Linked DNA regions of Homo sapiens: region 1 is linked to region 2. The links are contacts of gene promoters, found by promoter capture Hi-C in blood cells and fetal thymus (Javierre and others, 2016). All regions are on one chromosome and are shown on one strand. The core of a region is centred on a gene start or on the middle of the fragment in contact, and the rest is flanking DNA. Distances in the headings are between cores, read along the strand shown.

Region 1 (5,052 bases), core at 960-3,459, 240 kb before region 2:
AAATGTCCTGCTCTTGTCTAATTTTGGATAAGCCCCCCTAAGATAAATTTCAGTACAGATGCTGATTTCTCAAGCCTCATCTGGGGTTCCTCAAGACCCCTGCCAGGGCAGCTGCACAAGGAAGACTGGACTTTACCAGAAGAGCTTTATTGTATCGTGAAAGAAATGAAAATTGTGGAAGGGGGCTAGAAGCTAGACCAGTGTGTCTGAGAAAACAACAATGTTCCATTTTTAAAGGAATTCTGGTGCTTTAGTATCGATTGTCTAATATTGAATATCTCATTTGTCCTTAATCACAGACATGATTCTCCCCTTGAGGGGGTTGGCCAGTAGGTTGCCTGGGCTGTCTTCCAATACTACACTCAAAGCTTTTATTTTTTAAGGCTCCTCTTCTACTTTATTTATTTAAAATTACACAACTAGTAGACATTTGTAGTCAAAGAATTAAAAATATGAATGAGCAACACGTTTTAGAAAATCGCCCCAAATTGAGCCGGACACAGTGGCTCATACCTATAACCCCAGCGCTTTGGGAGGCCGATGCAGGTGGATTGTTTGAGTCTAAGAGGTCAAGACCAGCCCGGGTAACATAGCAAGACCCCATCTCTAAAAACATACAAAAAAATTAGCTAGGTGTGCCTGGCACGTGCCTATAGTCTCAGCTACTCAGGAGGCTGAGGTGGGAGGATCACCCGAGTCCAGGTTGAGGCTGCAGTGAGCCATGATCATGCCACTGCACTCCAGTCTGGGTGACAGAGTGAGATCCTGTATCAAAAAAAAAAAATTACCCCAAATCTTTTTTTTTGAGATGGAGTTTTGCCTTGTTGCCCAGGCTGGAGTACAATGACACGATCTCGGCTCACTGCGACCTCCACCTCCCAGGTTCAAGCGATTCTCCTGCCTGAGCCTCCCAAGTAGCTGGGATTTCAGGTATGCACCACCATGCCCTGCTAATTTTGTATTTTCAGTAGAGACGGGGTTTCTCCATGTTGGTCAGGCTGGTCTCGAACTCCCAACCTCAGGTGATCCGCCTGCCTTGGCCTCCCAAAGTGCTGGGATTACAGGCGTGAGCCACCGCGCCCAGCCAAAATTACCCCAAATCTTATTCCATATCCTTCCAGAAAATTTTCTAAATATTTTCATGGATATAAGTGCATGTATATATGCAAATAATGTGTGTACACAGAGACAATGTCTTTAAAACATGGAATCATACAGATTGTTAGCTATTTTTTTACTCTTAATATATCGTAAACATGTTTTTTTGGTCAGGAAAAACCTCCCCTAAAAGGCTCCAACCAGGCGATCCACAGGCCACATTTGACACCTAATTTTTGTCTGATGAAGTGCTTTAGTGATTTGAATTTGTATGCCCCTAAACTGGGACATGATTTGTTCACTTCCTGACTAATCCCTAAAGGCATTTGAGTTTGCCACCTTTGAGTTTTACGGTATCATTTCGAATTCCTACCATTGCCCTTGATCAGTGTTTCTCGGTAGTATCTGACATTTGGAGCCAGACAAGTCCTTATTGTCTAAAACTGTCTTGCAGACGGCAGGTTGTGGAGCCTCCTGAAAGCCCCCCAGTGTAACAGGCCAGTGTAATGGCCAAAGGGACCCCAAATGACCCCACACATTTCCAAAGCCCCCTGAGGTAGGAGGGTTTGCTCTCAGTTGAGAATCACTGAATTTGATATATGTTCCATTATTTTAAGATTAATGCCTTATTTTGGCCCTTTATACAAAACTAGATTGCCTACACCATCTTCCACATTTTAATATATTCTGAGCATATACTCAGAGCGTACACTTTGGGATAGCGAGGTGGAAGGATCACCGAGGCCGGGAGTTTGAGAAGAGCCCGGTGACAGAGTAAGACCCTGTCTCCCTTACTAGCCAAATGACACACAGCAGCTCATCCAAATGAAAACAGTAAATAATACGGACGTCCAACATTCTTAAATACTAATTTCAGTTCAGTTCCCTTCTAGATGTTAATTATTGAATTCAGTGTCTCAGTTTAATAATTTCAGTATCTATAAAGTGAGAAGAATAATAGTTTCCTACTTCACAGAGTTCTTGCATGAGCTCAGTGATTTATGCTGTTTGTAAAGACCTTTATACAATTCCAGGCATATACGAGGCACTCAGTAATTATTAGGTATTATTCAACCCTAAAATCCTCCACCACGATGGTGACTAGAACTATTAAAAATTGGATTGGTCTATTTTAGAAAACTTAGGCATTTGTTTTGAGTACAGTTTGGAGATAAGATCCAAGGTATGAAAATTATGACAGATGTCATTATTTAAGTGGCTAATGGCCCCTAACCACAATGAGCAGGTTGTTCCTTGGGGTCTAATTGCAGACTGCTGATCAGACAATCAGCAGAGACATCTGCTCATTTGCGCGTGCACGTGACACACACACACACACACACACACACACACCAAATAACCAGGAAATGGGCAATTTAAGGTAATTATGTTGTGAAAAAGCGCATGGACTGTGTGAGGGTTTGGTGTGCCTCGTTCCATCCTCGAGGTAGGGACGGTTCTGTCCTCTTCCACTGTGCTGAATTTTGACATCCAGCCCCCACACTAATGTAGTGCCCTGCCAGGCACCTCAAAACCAAACTTTAGGCTGGGCACGGTGGCTCATGCTTGTAATCTCAGCACTTTGGGAGAGCGAGGTGGAAGAATCACTTGAGACCAGGAGTTTGAGAAGAGCCTGGGTGACAGAGTAAAACCCTGTCCCTCCTCCCCCGACCAAAAAAAACCCTACTTCGTCCCAGTGCTAAGAGCATTTATTTTGTTTGCTTCAGACTTGAGTTAAGGCTGGATTCCATTTTATTAAGTTTCCCTCCTCCACTGATACAGGAGCTTTCTCATGGCCTTTCCAATAGGTACAGCGTAATATCAGGGGGAGAATAAAAAGATGCCCACTTTCCTGCCATACACCATGCTTTCTTTGGATAGGTTTATTCTAGAAAGAACGGTTTAAAACAAGATCACAATAGAAGATGATTTCTATGAAAAATCATATGGATTAGGCTAGGCGCAGTAGCCCACACCTGTAATCCCAGCACTTTGGGAGGCCGAGGTGGGTGGATCATGAGGTCGGGAGTTCAAGACCAGCCTGGCCAAGATGGTGAAACCCCGTCTCTACTAAAAATACAAAAATTAGCCGGGCATGGTGGCAGGCACCTGTAATCCTAGCTACTCGAGAGGTTGAGGCAGAGAATTGCTTGAACCCAGGAAGCGGAGGTTGCAGTGAGCTGAGATCACGCCACTGTACTCCAGCCTGTGTGACAGAGCAAGACTCTGTCTGAAAAGGAAAAAAAAAAAAAGAAAAATCATATGGATCAAAGTAATTATAATCAACATTGTCAACTGACTTTATTAATCTTTTCAAATGAAGTAGCTGTAAACTTTCTTTGCTGTCTCCATTAATTTGTTGTTTTTAACATTAGCTAAGGTATAATGGAAAGAGAACAAAAAGAAGGGAGAACAAAAGAAGGGGAAAGAAGGGAGCTAGGGCCTGCCTTCTCCTGGCTCTGTCACTTGCTAACGGTGTGACTTTGGACAGGGAGATGTCCCCTCTAGGCCCTGGTGAATTAGGGAGCTTGGCAAAGTACTCCTAAGGCTCTTTTCAGCCCTGAGCATCCTGCTCTTTAAAGGCTGGGGTGAAGTAAGGCGAAAAGAAAGCAAAGCTGGATGGAAATGGAAAATTTAAAAATAAAAAAATCTTTATTTCCATTTTGTAACATTCAGCCTCCTCCACATTGCTAGACTTTCTCTCCCAGTTTAATATGCAGTTTCCAATAATCAAGAAAAGGAGGAAACACAAATAAACCAAATTAATAATATAGGGACTATTAATCTCAGAAACAGAAGGGATTAACATTTTTCAACAAAAATGGGGTACCAAAAAAAAGAAGAGGTTTTAAAAAAAGTTAGACTACAAAATTTTTTTTGATGAAATCTCAGTAAAATGGATAGTTTCCTAGAAAAGTATAAATTAACAAAATTGATTCCATATGGCACGGAAAGCTTAGACCAAAACCAAACCAAAATAACAAGAAATAAGTTTAGGAAGGAGCATGGTATCTAGCCACTAAAGACAAAGAACCTGGAGTCAGACTGCTTGGGTTCAAATCCCAGCTCATTCTCTGCATGAGCTTGGCCTGGCTATTTAACCTCTCAAAGCCTCAGTCTTTTAATATGTAAGATGGGAACAGTAACTAATTTCGGGACTAGATAAGACAAATATAAATGATAACTACTTCTGAGGATGAAATTAGATGAGCTATGTGAAATAGTTATTAGAACTTTTGGCACATAGTACTAAGCATCCAATGAATGCAAGCTATTATTATTTAGAAATTAAAAGCATTGGCTGAGCCCAGTGGCTCACACTTGTAATCCTAGCACTTTGGGAGGCTGAGGCAGTTGAATAGCTTGAGCCCAGGAGTTGGAGATCAGCCTGGGCAACAAGGCAAGACCCCATCTCTATTAAAAAGAAAAGAAAGAAAAGAAAGAAAGAAAGAGAGAGAAAGAGAGAGAGAGAAAGAGAGAAAGAAAGAGAAATAAATAAATAAATAAATTAGAAGCATTATCAGACTTACCTCCTCAATACCTGTCCAAATGGTTTGACAAATGAGGAGTTTCAAACTTTTAAGGAACACATAATTATTATTCTACAAGCCAATACAGGGCACAGGAAGACAGAAACTCTTGGGTTCATCTCATTTATGAATATGGAGGTATATATATATGGTAATATCAAGAAGTTAGCCCAGGATGTTGAGGAAATTGATTATTACAAAGATGGAAACAAACATTGGGTATTTTCCATGTGCTTTAATCCTCTCACTCTACAAAAATAGACATTACCACTACTTCATAGATGAGGAAACTAAGGCTTAGGAAGATTGAAAAATTTGCCACGTTGCCAGCTGGAAGACTCATGTTTCCTAAACCAACTGACTCAAAATCCTAAATCCCAATCATGTCAGGAAGCTGTCTTTTATATAATACAAATACAATATT
Region 2 (4,856 bases), core at 1,988-4,487:
AATAATAAATTCAACTATATTATTAAGACTTCAACCCATCAAAAGGCCATTAAAAAAATAAAAACACAAGACACAAATGAAGAGAAATATTTATAATTTAAATAAAACTGACAAAATTTTAGACTCCACAATATATAGAAACCCTTAAAATTCAATAAGAAGACAGCTCTAAACAAAAATGGGCAATAGATATGAACAGTCATTTTACCAGAGAAACATGAATGGCAAATAAGCATATTTAAAGATGTTTAGGCCAGGCATGGTGGTTCAGCCTGTCATCTCAGCACTTTGGGAGACCAAGGCAGGAGGATCATTTGAGGCCAGGAGTTCAAGACCAGTCTGGGCAACATAGAGAGACACTGTCTCTATAAAAAAACTTCTAAAAATTAGCTGAAGGTGTTGGTGTTCACTTGCAATCTTAACTACTCAGAAGGCTGCGGCAAGAGGATTCTTTGAGCTCAGGAGTTGGAGGCTGCAGTGAGCTATACTTGTGCCACTGAACTCCAGCCTGGGTGACAGAGCAAGACCCTATGATAAATAAATAAATAAATAAATAAATAAAGCTTAAACTCTTTAACAAACTAGAGAGTACAAAATAATACCACAAGGAGATATTTTCCAGGCACTAAATGGGCAAAATGAAGATATTGGAAATGCCAATGCCAAGAGCTAGTGAGAAAGTGAAGCAACAGGAACTTATATACTATGCACTACCTTGCTGATTAGTATAAATTGTTCCAATCACTTTGGAAAATAATTCAGCCTTCTCTTGTAAAATAGAACATACAGTACAACACAGCATTTTCACTCCTAGATATATATTCCAGAGAATCTCTTTTACCTGTGGCCCAGGAGACATGTACAATAATGTCAATAGACTGTAGCAAGATATAACAGCATGCATAAATCCCACAAACAGTGTTGGGTAAAAAGAGCAAATTGCAGAAGACTACACACAACATGATGTCATTTTTATAAGATATACACACACACACACACTATACATATATGTATATCATACATATGTTGTAGAACTATTTAAAACACACAACACGGTCATACAATTACCTTGGGCAGGGAGTTGGAAAATAAAGGCAATAGAACACATGCACCTTCAATGCTACTGATAATTTTCCATGATTGGCTAGATCTGGGAACAGTGTGGGAATTAGACAGATTGCAAGAATTGGAGCAGTGACAGGAGAAAAAATGCAGTTTGACCAGTTAGGTCTAAACTCCAAATCACGGGTGTTCATGTTATTATTTACTTTACATACACGTTGTACGTACTCTTAATTATCAAATATTATGTGATAAGATAATTTAAAGAATATTTAAGGACCAGGAAGTGTTTATGACATAATGTTAAAGGAAAAAAAGCAGAACATAGAACTTTGGATGCAGTATATGCATCTGTTTCATTTTAAAACAGGGACATCCTTCATTTGTGGGTATTTGTGTGCAGAGAAAAAAGATTGGATAACATCAAAATATGATGAGTGAACGTCTCTGGATATTGGGATAGCATGTGATTTTTTTCTTTATACTTAATGTTCCAAATATTTCACAAGGGCATAAATATACATGAATTTTACAATCATAAAAATTGTGCTGGGTGTGGTGGCTCATTCCTGTAATACTAGCACTTTGGGAGGCTTAAATGGGAGGGTTGCTTGAGTCCAGGAGTTCAAGAGCAGCCTGGACAAAATAGTGAAACCCTATCTCTACAAAAATAATAATAATTTTAAAAAATAATAAATATATAAAATAAAAAGTCTCTTTTAAAAAAATTTTAAAGTTAGGTAGAGATTAAGCTACTTTTTACTAAAAATTATGTCAATGTTCATGTTTAAATTTCAACTCTATTTTTAACATTCTAAATCTTAAACTAGGTGGTGAATCCAGAAATGTTCATTATGTTATTTTTTATATCTTTATAATATGTGAAGTATTTCATGATACTGTTTTAAAGTTGCTATTAAAAAGTAACTAGGCAGGGTGTGGTGGCTCACGCCTGTAATCCCAGCACTTTGGGAGGTCGAGGTGGGCAGATCACCTGAGGTCGGGAGTTCGAGACCAGCCTGACCAACATGGAGAAACCCCATCTCTACTAAAAATACAAAATTAGCCAGGCATGGTGGTGCATGCCTGTAATCCCAGCTACTTGGGAGGCTGAGGCCAGAGAATTGCTTGAAACTGGGAGGCGGAGGTTGCGGTGAGCCGAGATCGCCCCATTGCACTCCAGCCTGGGCACCGAGAGAGAAAAAAAAAGAAAAGAAAAGAAAAGTAACTACATGGCTGAATTTTTTTTTTTAAGCAAATCTTAAATGAAATGCAAACACCAGGACTGTGAACCTGTAGCTTTGGTCACAGGTAGCAATATGGCCTTACTGGTTGTATAGCACTTACTGAATTTTTCTTGAGAATTCTAAAATTTGAGAGTGATGCCAGATAAAATTGCATCAAGAAATCTGAAAGGAACGATTTATTCTGGCTTCAGGAAATCTGATTTTATATTTCTGTGACATAAGACAGGTTTTCTTTTTTCCAGAATGATCCTCTACTCTGAATAACCATAAAATTTCACTTGTGGAATACATCAAAATTATTTATACATCAAAATTCTCTTAAATATTTTATAGTAATCTTTCTAAAAATCCTTCAGTCTTACTGTACTTGTCTAGAGTTGCAAAAATGTAGTGTTAACATTAATATTAAAAGCACTTTCAATGAAATTTCTAAACAGGAGCCAACCCTCTGAGCTGGTATTTCAAAGCAGTATCTATAAACAGAGCAATTTGTTCCAATTTCAGATGAAATCAAGCTGGGAACCTAGAGAGCTCCCCCGCCCCAGGATCTAGGGAATTGTAGTCAGGTTCTAAGCTTCGGAAAAAACGAGCAGCAGAGTATGGTCTGATAAGCTTCGTGCATTTTATTTTGCTTTTCCTCCTTTATTTGATTTGTTGTCATACAGGAAAGGATTTATGGGTGAGAGATCAAGTGCGGACCAGACATGACTCTAGCCTGGAGCCCGACCTCACCTCTGCTCTGCAGGAACTGCTGGCCTCAGCACGAAAACCCACAACCCTCGAAAGGCCTTAAGGATCCTGGGCGGGGTCATTCTGTCAATTGGTTGTTCCGCTGTCCTAGCGAAGCGATGATTGGTCAGATCTGGATATGGGGTGTGGCTAAGGCTGTTTGCCGGAATAAGAGCAGAGCTAGGGCCAAGAAACGCTAGTCTGGGCGTTTAGGTCAGAACTACCCCGGTAGCCTGACAGCAGGAGCTCGAGAGAAGCATGGCTCAGCGGTGCGTTTGCGTGCTGGCCCTGGTGGCTATGCTGCTCCTAGTTTTCCCTACCGTCTCCAGATCGATGGGCCCGAGGAGCGGGGAGCATCAAAGGGCGTCGCGAATCCCTTCTCAGTTCAGCAAAGAGGAACGCGTCGCGATGAAAGAGGCGCTGAAAGGTGAACCCGGGTCCCCTTCACCCACCTATGCTCATATGTGGGTCCCTCCCTCCCCAGGTCAACCCGTGACTCCCCGCTTCCGCCGCAAAGCATCTGCTACTGCAGCTGGAGCCCCGACACGCACCCCAGCCCGGCCCCAACACCCTTCCCAGCACATCGTGCCCCTGTCTGGGGACGCCACACTTCCCCCATACCTGGCTCCTGGAACTCTGGTGTGCCCTGCCTAACCTGGAAGCTCCAACTTCACCCCTCTTGGCGTGACCACCGTCCATTCTTTCCCCTGCTTGCCTCGAGTATTACACCAGCTTTCATTTGTACATCAATTTTAACCTTTGAAAGTTTGCATGCCTGATAAATTACTGCGGTGTCGTAAAATAAGACAAATGATATTAGTCTTATCTACAAAGGAGAGAAATTGAGGCTTAGGTCAGCTAAATGATCTTCCCCAGGGCCCCACAGCAAAGAGTGGGCAGTGGGTGACAGCATCTAGTGCCTGTCGGACTCGCTGGGATCAGATGGCTCTAAAGAAAGGGAGTGGAGTGTTCCCGGGGTGTGGGATGTTCCTAATTCTCAATCATAATTGAAGAACATGTCTCCTCTAGATCTCTAATCCAGACCAAAAATTCATCCCTGTTCTGAATCTGCATTTTCCAGGAAACAGGAAAGTTTCTGTTGAGTGCTAGATCCTATGGGATGAAATCCTTCTTTACCATTCAGCTTAGCTCCAGTCTTTTCCCTTTCATTAAGTAATGGATTAAGAGAGACTGCCTGCATAAACATATAGAAGCAGATGCAGGGACCAAAAGCTAACCCCAATAGTTGGATATAGATTGTTCATATGCTAGAGTGACAAGCCTGGGAGGCAGAGCAGGGCTTTCCCAAAGCATAAATAATTCTCTAAAAGGCATTAGACAGCCACTCACAGTCTGCACAGAAGAGAACAAAAGCTACATAAGCTAGAATAGGGACCTCATAGCAACACAGCTTGGAACTCTGAGCAGGGGACAGAACACCTGAGATCAGATCCTTGGGTCTGCCCTTGAGTAGGCACTTGAATCTTTCTGAACCTCGGCTTCCCCATCTATCTGGTGGGCTATGCTATTGTAGGGTTGATCCTTAGCAAAACTGATGAAGTTTGTCTTTCAGAGACCCTTCCTGCCTCAGGTGAATTTGTTTGCACTGTGTTCTTGGAGAGCAGTCTAATTCAATATTCTCATGATTCATGCTTTCCCTCCCAGTGGTTTTGTCTTTGATCATGGAACTCTTTAAAACTGTAAAGTCTTAAAGACTCAAAGGGATGAGCCCAGTGAAGGTTCAGGAACTGAGACAACTGAGTAAGGAGGGTGAGATTATTTTAGGACTGAGGAGTTTGTTTGGAGGCTTCTAAATCC

The links. Contacts are between HindIII fragments. The CHiCAGO score rates a contact against its expected background, and 5 or more counts as called.
Region 1: a fragment that was not itself captured here is called in contact with the fragment with the promoter of PM20D1 in region 2 in 1 of 17 cell types (endothelial precursors); the score reaches 5.9 in endothelial precursors.

The regions. Positions count from the first base shown.
Region 1 is chr1:206,091,569-206,096,620 of GRCh38, reverse strand. The region is part of intron 1 of RHEX (regulator of hemoglobinization and erythroid cell expansion); the gene reads right to left. Among named protein-coding and RNA genes, the nearest start is that of AVPR1B, 23 kb to the left of the region's middle. The HindIII fragment of the contact is 3,685 bases long and covers 367-4,051 here.
Region 2 is chr1:205,848,513-205,853,368 of GRCh38, reverse strand. PM20D1 (peptidase M20 domain containing 1) reads left to right here and starts at 3,237. Exons shown (of 13, transcript NM_152491.5): 1 at 3,237-3,465. The coding sequence starts at 3,297. RefSeq lists an enhancer at 3,014-3,308. The HindIII fragment of the contact is 2,085 bases long and covers 2,924-4,856 here.